Regions from separate parts of the Homo sapiens genome. Here regions 1 and 3 are each linked to region 2. Evidence: promoter capture Hi-C in 16 types of primary human blood cells and fetal thymus (Javierre and others, 2016). All regions are on one chromosome and are shown on one strand. The core of a region is centred on a gene start or on the middle of the fragment in contact, and the rest is flanking DNA. Distances in the headings are between cores, read along the strand shown.

Region 1 (2,848 bases), core at 36-2,535, 1.8 Mb before region 2:
AGATTTCAGTGATGGCTGAAATTACTCCTTCAAAAGGGATCTAGGTATAGAAAACTATTAAGGTGTAGCATCTCACAATCAGGGTGGAGAGAGAGAGAGACAGAAAGAGAGAAGGAGAGGGAAGGAGGGACGGAGAGCATGAGGGAGATTATAGCATGAGCAAATAGGGACTTATTCCTTAAAGATGGAGACAGATACACCAGCTAGTTACAGAAAAACTTAATGGGGTTGAGAGGAAGACCAGAAAGATTACTGTAAAGTACTCAAAGCATCACTAGGAGTTTCCAGATAACAGCTTATTGTATGTCGTATCTCTGCTATGTGGAAGTTTAAGTACTCCCTGTGTCCTGAGAAAATATGTCTGAAATATTTATAAATCAGGGACCTAAGCATAGCAGAGATAGGATGTATTAATGTGGAACCAGGAAGAAAAATGCTGCATTGGGTCTATTGGATGCTGGTCTGTTGAAAGAACACCTTCTGTGTGGGATTATCCAACTCTGGATGGAAACTTTTGAAGAGTGAGTGCTTTGGCATAACCAGAACCCATGATTTTATGTCTTAATTATTAGCCACAAAATAAAATCTAGAGAAATAGGGTAGTAAAACAAGTGTCCAGTAGCAGAAAGAGCTGCTACTCAAGTCCTAGACTATTCAACAGTCAAGAAAAGACAGTGTCTTAAGAAAGCTCATGGCTGAATTATTGACTGGTATTTATTAGGTCTGAGGCAGATGACCAACCATCCTGGTTTTTCTGGTTTTAGCATTGAAAATCCTGTACTCAAGGTAAACCAGGATAGTTGGTCACCCTATTAATAGAGGCCCGAGTTTCCAAAGTGTCAACAGCATTTTCAGTTCAGGAATCTGGTGATGGTCATTCTCTAGTGGGAACAAATGCAGAGAGAGAGAAACTTCCCTAGGAAGCAGGTTTCTTGGGTTGAAGACATTATTTAACAGGATGCAGTGGTAGCAGCCATATGGGTAACAGGACTGAAAAATGCCGCTTGCTGTCATCTCAATGCATCAGAGCGCTATAGTCTTGGAAGCTGCAACACAACAGGCATGCACTTGGGGTACACTGGGATGCCAGAGCTTGGGGCTCAATCAGTGTATTTTTTTTTTTTTTTTGGGAGATGGAGTCTTGCTCTGTCGCCCAGGCTGGAGTGCAGTGGCTCGATCTCGGCTCACTGCAAGCTCTGCCTCCCGGGTTCTCGCCATTCTCCTGCCTCAGCCTCCCGAGTAGCTGGGACTACAGGTGCCCACCACCACACCCGGATAATTTTTTGTATTTTTAGTAGAGATGGGGTTTCACCATGTTAGCCAGGATGTTCTCGATCTCCTGACCTCGTGATCCACCCGTCTGGCCTCCCGAAGTGCTGGGATTACAGGTGTGAGCCACCGCGCCTGGCCTCAATCAGTGTATTGAACTGTATAGGAAAATTTGAGCAGGCTGGATGGAAATTAAAAAATCCCTTCAATAAGGCCTAATGACTGAGGTGGCATCATTGCAAATTTCTACACTTTGCAAAAAGAAGAGAATGTTTCTGATATCTCTCTCTCAGAGCGTTGGGGGAAGATATAACTGCACGATTAGATTTACTCCAAAAAGTTATTAAATGCAGAGTACTTAAATAGGAGAGATAATAGTATAAAGATTCACGTACCCATTACCCACTTTAACAATAATAAACTCATGGTCAATATTGATTCCTCTATATAAATCAAGGGGGAAGCTATAATTTTTGTATACCATCTGTGAGTGGGTGGGTTAGTCTCCCTAATTCTGGTGTTCAGAATCAAGGGACCCATTTGCTAAATGATAAAGCCACATTTGCCAATGTGAATTTTATCAGTAATACTGTGGTTTTGATCTCTTATTACCTTGTTTTTTTTTTTTTTTTTGAGACAGTCTTGCTCTGTTACCCAAGCTGGAGTGCAGTGGATGATCTCGGCTCACTGCAACCTCCACCTCCCGGGTTCAAGCGATTCTCCTCCCTCAGTCTCCTGAATAGCTGGGATCACAGGTGCCTGCCACCACGCCTGGCTAATTTTTGTATTTTTAGTAAAGATGGGGTTTTGCTATGTTGGCCAGGCTGGTCTCGAACTCCTGACCTCAGGCGATCTGCCTGCCTCGGCCTCCCAAAGTGCTGGGATTACAGGTGTGAGTCACCATGCCCGGCCTCTTATTACCTTATTCTTTTACTTTATTTCCCAGTTCGTTGAGAACTAGAACAAGAAATTGGGATATCAGTGCCCTGAAATCCTCCAACAACCACTGAGAATAAATAGGCTAGCTACTTTGATTAGATAAACTTCTGTACCTACCTGGACCACAGATCCTGTAAGAGTGGGCCATAACCGACTTTCATCTCATTTCATTACCCCTGGGCAACAGCTGATTAGATCTGACCCAAGGCTACCAGTTAGATGCTCCCTCTCTTTATTGCTCAAGGAATTAAACTATGAGGCCAGGCATGGTGGCTCACACCTGTAATCCCAGTACTTTGGTAGGCCGAGGCAGGTGGATCACCTGAGGTCAGGAGTTCGAGTCCAGCCTGGCCAACATGGTGAAACCCCGTCTCTACTAAAAATTCAAAAATTAGCTGGGCGTGGTGGTGGGTGCCTGTAATCCCCGCTACTCAGGAGGCTGAGGCAAGAGAATCGCTTGAACCCAGGAGGTGGAGGTTGCAGTCAGCCAAGATCACACCATTACACTCCAGCCTGGGTGACAAGAGTGACACTCCATCTCAAAAAAAAAAAAAAAAAAAAAAAGTTAAATACAGCACAATGACTGCAATCATTTGATGGATTTGATGGTAGGCACATGAGCTGAATTGGGATGGCTATT
Region 2 (2,750 bases), core at 16-2,515:
ATTAGGTAGGAAATATAGGTCAGAAGCTATAGAAGGAAAAATTACAGAGCTGTATTCTATACCAAACTTACTCTGATTCAGACACTATCATATTAACCCATTAAAAATGTCAGAAAATTAGAAACATTTCATTCATATTATTGGTAGAAATTTAAAAGTTACACAAAGATATCCTTTATAGCTTCATCTCAGATTTCCTTATAGTACCAGGTAAACCAATCCAGCTCCACAGATCTCTGAGGCATCTTTGAAGTTGGCTAGAATGCTCTGGATCTGAACAGATATTGTGTTCATGAACCCAGGTTGGAGTGGTCAAAGAGGAAGTGCATCAGATAACTCCATATTCCCTCCAGCAATTGTTTGGTCCTCATGCCATAGATGATGGGATTTAAAGTGGCTGGGATGATCACGTACAGGTCAGCTAGCAGCACTTGGGTGTGCAAGGGCACTATATCCTGCCCCAACCAGGCCGCATAGATGGATGCCATCCCAGGTAGATAGTACAAAGCCATAACCCCCACATGGGAGCCACATGTGCTTAATGCTTTCAACTGAGCAGTCTTTGAGGAGAGATCAAATACTGCCCTGAGAATTAAGATATAGGAGGCAGCAATGAAGGCCACATCAGAGCCCACCATAAGAGAGGAACCAATCAGACTGTAGAGACTGCTGGGCACGGGGTCAGCACATGCTAACCTGGCCAAAGCTATGTGCTTACAGTAGGAGTGGACAACCACATTGGAGCCACAGAAAGGTAGATGATTCATCATCCAACTCAGTGGAGTCATGAATGTGACAGCTCTGATGGTGACGGCCATACTCATTCCCAGCATCACTTGAGGCGTGAGAATTCTCTTGTAGTGTAGAGGCTTGCAGATGGCTACATAGCGGTCAAAAGCCATGGTCAGCAGCAGCCCCGTCTCCACAGCTGTGGCTAAGTGGACAAAAAACATCTGAGTGAAACAAGCACTAAAGCTGATGGAGCTGTCTCCCGAGCAGAAGATGCTCACCATCTTGGGTACCACGGAGGAGGCCATAACAATGTCCACAGCAGCCAGAACACACAGAAAGCAATACATGGGCTCATGCCGAGTGGAATCCATCCAGATTGCAGTCACGATGAGGGTGTTTCCTAACAGGGCTGTGATGTACATGGCACTCAGTGAGATAGCCAGCCAAAGATGTGAAGATTGCAGTCCTGGGATACCCACAAGGAGGAAGGAGGCAGGGGTTTCCATTGTGTGGTTGTAAGCTGGACCCAGCATCACAGGTGAGACTTCTTGCCTATTAATGTATAGATGATGTAAGAGAATGGTGCAGTCCTATAAGATTAGTTCCTCTTTGTGGTGCTGGGAAAACCTAGGGATATTCTCAGCTTGGTGGTATGGCAGGATCAGAAAAATGACTTCTAATACTGTGCTACTTTTCATCCTCCTTACAAGTTTCTATTCATTGTTGAAGGATCAGCTCGTGAATTCCTTCCTTAGGGACTTGTGTTCTGCTCTCTTCCTCACCCAACCCCATGCCCAGGTTAAGTTAATTACCTCTTTTGCAGTTTCCTGAAATCTCCTGTAGGGACTAAATCGACAATTCCAGTACTGTATGAGTTTATGGTATTCACTCAAGTGCCTTATAGGAAGATTGTGATCCATAGCTGTGGTCACAAGTCACTTGAGTGAAGATATATATACTCATTACAGTAAACAATTTCCACAGAAAGAACGATTAACAGAGGAAAGAATGACTTATCTCTGTGTGCTGTTACTAAATGTTGAAACCAGAACTTCTTGAAAACAAACATCACATTTTATATGCTCAGCATATTGCATAGACAAAACATAAATTCAGCATTCTTGTGATTCATGAAGTACGTTAGTAAGTTCAGTAAAATAAAACCATTAGAGAATAACATTATCACATTTTACAGGTGATTATAAATTATCTATAAATAAATATAATCCTTACCTTCTCTAAATTTACCCTGGATCCTATTCACTTTGGTTCAGTTAATAGATTAAATTACTACAAGGAAAATCTTAGGGTTACCTTATAGATGACCCCCCCTCCCCAATAAGTTGTTATGGTTCTTTAATACAACTAACTCCCTCTTCCTGATAACCAAGATGTTCCAAACAAGAAAGCTTTATCCTTTAGAAAGTTAAGCACTTTATTATTAACACAGTATGTGCCAGTACTATGTTAAAAGTGTAGTATTCATAATCTGAGTGTATTTCTCCATTTGTAATATAAGACAAACATCCATTCCATACAACACAGTTTGTATAACTTAGATTAAATATTCTAGCCAAGATCATGTAGTACGTGTGTGGTAAGTTTTGGGTTTAAGCTATGACTCCCAGGTGTCCATCCAGCCCAACATAAATAGTCAACAAGACAACTATGGATAAAACAAGGTTAGGGGTTTCACTTGGCCACGTTTGATGAGACAAAGATAGCTACTGCTGTGCACAGCCAGCAGCTGAGCTCTACCACTTGTTCATCTCTGTTTATTGATGTATTCACCCTCCATTGCCTCATTCAGGTGTTACCATATCATATAATATGTAACAATCTAAGTGGGGAAACCTGAATATAAAGAAGTCAGCATTAACTACCATTCTATTCCTGTGTGATAGCTGTTTAGTTACTCTCTCCTTAGGATGATTGGTTTCCATGATTTCATATTCATATGGTGTTTGGTCATAGGCACATTTTCCCTGCCATCTGAGAAGACTCCTTACAAGGGGAGG
Region 3 (2,731 bases), core at 51-2,550, 1.2 Mb before region 2:
CCCCAAAGCGGTGGGAAAAGAAGGAGAAGAAAGCTGGAGTATAGGAGAAAACAATGGCACAAATGTGGGCAGTGCAGGTATTAAAGGCCTTCTGCCGAGCATCTGCTGAGGAGAGGCTGACCACTGCCCGGAGAATCATGGTATAGGAGTTGGTGATACACAGTATGTCAAAGCCCCAAATCAGGAGGGCAACCATCAGACCATAGATGGCATTGACCTTGACATTACCACAGGACAATTTGGCTACAGACATGTGGTCACAGTAGGTATGGGGAAGTATATTGCCTCTGCAGTAGGGCAGGAGCTTGGTGAGGAAAGTAAAGGGAATAATGAGTAATACCCCTCTCAGGAAGGTGGCAGTCCCAACCTTTGCAATTACAGGATTGGTGAGGATAGTTGAATAGCGTAAGGGGTAGCAGATGGCCACATAGCGATCCAGGGCCATAAGCATAAGCACCCCAGACTCCATCCCTGTGAAGGTGTGGGTGAAGAACATCTGGACAAGGCATTCATCAAATCCAATGTCCTTGAGATGAAACCAGAAGATGCAGAGGGCTTTAGGGATTGTACTAGAGCACATAACAAGGTCAGTAAAGGAAAGCATGGCCAAGAAGTAGTACATGGGTTTGTGCAGGGCATCCTCATAGTGAATGAGGTAGAGGAGTCCACAATTCCCTACCATAGCCACAACATACATAGAGCAGAATGGGAAGGAAATCCAGAGTTGTGTGTCTTCCAGTCCTGGGACTCCATTCAGAATAAATGAAGCTGGTATTAGGTCTGTTTTATTCAGTGTTAGCATGATAAGTCTGGTAGGTTATGAAATAGCTCAAAATTTGTCTGGGCTTTCCTAGAGTTAAAAAAAAAAACAAGAGAAAATATAGGTTATTTTTACTGTCTCCCTCTCCCCCAACTTTTAAAAATTCCATAATGCATTTTAATGGTCCAACAACCAAATTTCTGAGTGCCAAGAAATAATTTTGTTTGTCTGTTTAGTTTTATTGATTGATTAATTAATTGATTCAGTAAAAAATTCTTATTGAGCAGTCTAAGTTTTCAACACAGATGCCAATCAAACATCAATTATTTTATAAAAAGACATATTCCCAATCTCATAGATTTATAATCAAGTATAATTCTGACTTTTCAAATGGTATTTTTATTAGAATATCTTACTTAACTATAACTATACTCATCTCAATATAGATATAATTTTAAAGAAGAGTCATTTGATTACCTCACTGATGATCTGAGAGATGAGATGTTGACTTTTTAATTTTTATTCTTAATGACTGACTGATATTTATTCTTGGGTACTCAGGCACTGTTCAAAGAATTTTGAAATTTTAATTAAATTATTACTCAATGAAGCTTGGGGTCTCAAAAATTAGTAAATTTATTGGGTGTCTATACTCAATAATAATTTAATTGTATATTTTAAAATAACTAAAATAATATAATTGGGTTGTCTGTAACACAAAGGATAAATGTTTGAGATGATGGATACCCCTATTTACTTTACTGGGATTTTTTTTTTTTTTTTTTTTTTTTTTTGAGGCAGAGTCTTGCTTTGTTGCCCAGGCTGGAGTGCAGTGGCGCAATCTTGGCTGCAACCTCCACCTCCCGGATTCAAGCAATTCTCCTGTCTTAGCCTCCCGAGTAGCTGCGACTACAGGCACATGCCACCACGCCCAGCTAATTTTTGTATTTTTAGCAGAGATGGGGTTTCACTATATTGGTCAGGTTGGTCTCCAACTCCTGACCTCAGGTAATCCACCCACATCAGGCTCCCAAAGTGCTGGGATTACAGGCATGAGCCACTGTGCCCGGCCCTTTAAAAGGGATTATTACACATTGTATGCTTCTATCAAAATATCTCATACACCCATAAATATATACACCTACTATGTGCCCACAAAAATTTAAAATTAAAAAAGTCAATGAAGTTTTGATTCAATTTTTTCACTTTTCAAGATATCTTTCTTGTTCTTTATGTATCTAGTCAACGCAAACTAGAAGATATCCAAATGCATACATACAGAAAATATATAAAGTACTTCAACAACATCAGTAAGAAAAAGTTGCAGGAAGAAACATACACTTCAAAAGAGAAATAAAATTGCCAATGAACAGGTAAATAGGCACAAACTTTTATATTAATCAGAAAAATAAGTAAAAATTGTATCTCTCATGACAAAGCACCTTTTTTTGGTATGTAGTGACATACCAAACAGGACAGCTAAAATGAAAAGAACTAAAAATACCAAGCATTGGCAAAGATGTAGAACAACTGGAACTCTCATTTACTGCTGGTAGACATGTAAATTAGAACAACTCTTTATTAGATATCTCATAATGATAAACATACACATGACCACCATTGCCATTTCCAACAAAACTATGTATATATATTTACTAGAATACATCAATTAGAATGCTTATTGAAACATGATTTGTAGTATAGCCTAAAACTGGAAAAAACCTAAATGTTCATCAACATCAAATGGGTAAATAAATTTTGGTACATTCCCACAATGAAATACCACGTAACAATAAGAATAAACAATCTATGACTATATGCATAATATAGACGAATCTCACAATATGTGTTAATTTTTTTTAGAAAGACTTAAAATAGATGTAACATCTTGTGATCTTTAAATGAAATACAAAAACGGATCAAATTATTCTGTGCTATTAGAAATAGAAAAATCTTTTTAAAAAGTGAGAG

The links. The method cuts DNA at HindIII sites, captures the fragments that hold promoters and counts their contacts. A CHiCAGO score of 5 or more calls a contact.
Region 1: a contact is called between a fragment that was not itself captured here and the fragment with the promoter of OR52I1 in region 2, in 1 of 17 cell types (naive CD8 T cells). The highest score is 5.4, in naive CD8 T cells.
Region 3: a contact is called between the fragment with the promoter of OR52N4 here and the fragment with the promoter of OR52I1 in region 2, in 1 of 17 cell types (naive CD8 T cells). The highest score is 5.0, in naive CD8 T cells.

What each region holds. Positions count from the first base shown.
Region 1 is chr11:6,342,614-6,345,461 of GRCh38, reverse strand. LOC101927825 (a long non-coding RNA gene) reads right to left here. Exons shown (of 7, transcript XR_930998.4): 7 at 1-1,046. Among named protein-coding and RNA genes, the nearest start is that of CAVIN3, 24 kb to the right of the region's middle. The HindIII fragment of the contact is 3,393 bases long and covers 1-2,848 here.
Region 2 is chr11:4,592,554-4,595,303 of GRCh38, reverse strand. It overlaps OR52I1 (olfactory receptor family 52 subfamily I member 1), which reads right to left and starts at 1,265. Exons shown (of 1, transcript NM_001005169.1): 1 at 291-1,265. The coding sequence starts at 1,265. The coding sequence ends at 291. OR52I2 (olfactory receptor family 52 subfamily I member 2) reads right to left here. Exons shown (of 2, transcript NM_001405760.1): 2 at 1,964-2,750. The HindIII fragment of the contact is 4,139 bases long and covers 1-2,143 here.
Region 3 is chr11:5,752,812-5,755,542 of GRCh38, reverse strand. It overlaps OR52N4 (olfactory receptor family 52 subfamily N member 4), which reads right to left and starts at 1,300. Exons shown (of 2, transcript NM_001005175.5): 1 at 1,238-1,300; 2 at 1-850. The coding sequence starts at 802. The HindIII fragment of the contact is 4,248 bases long and covers 1-1,373 here.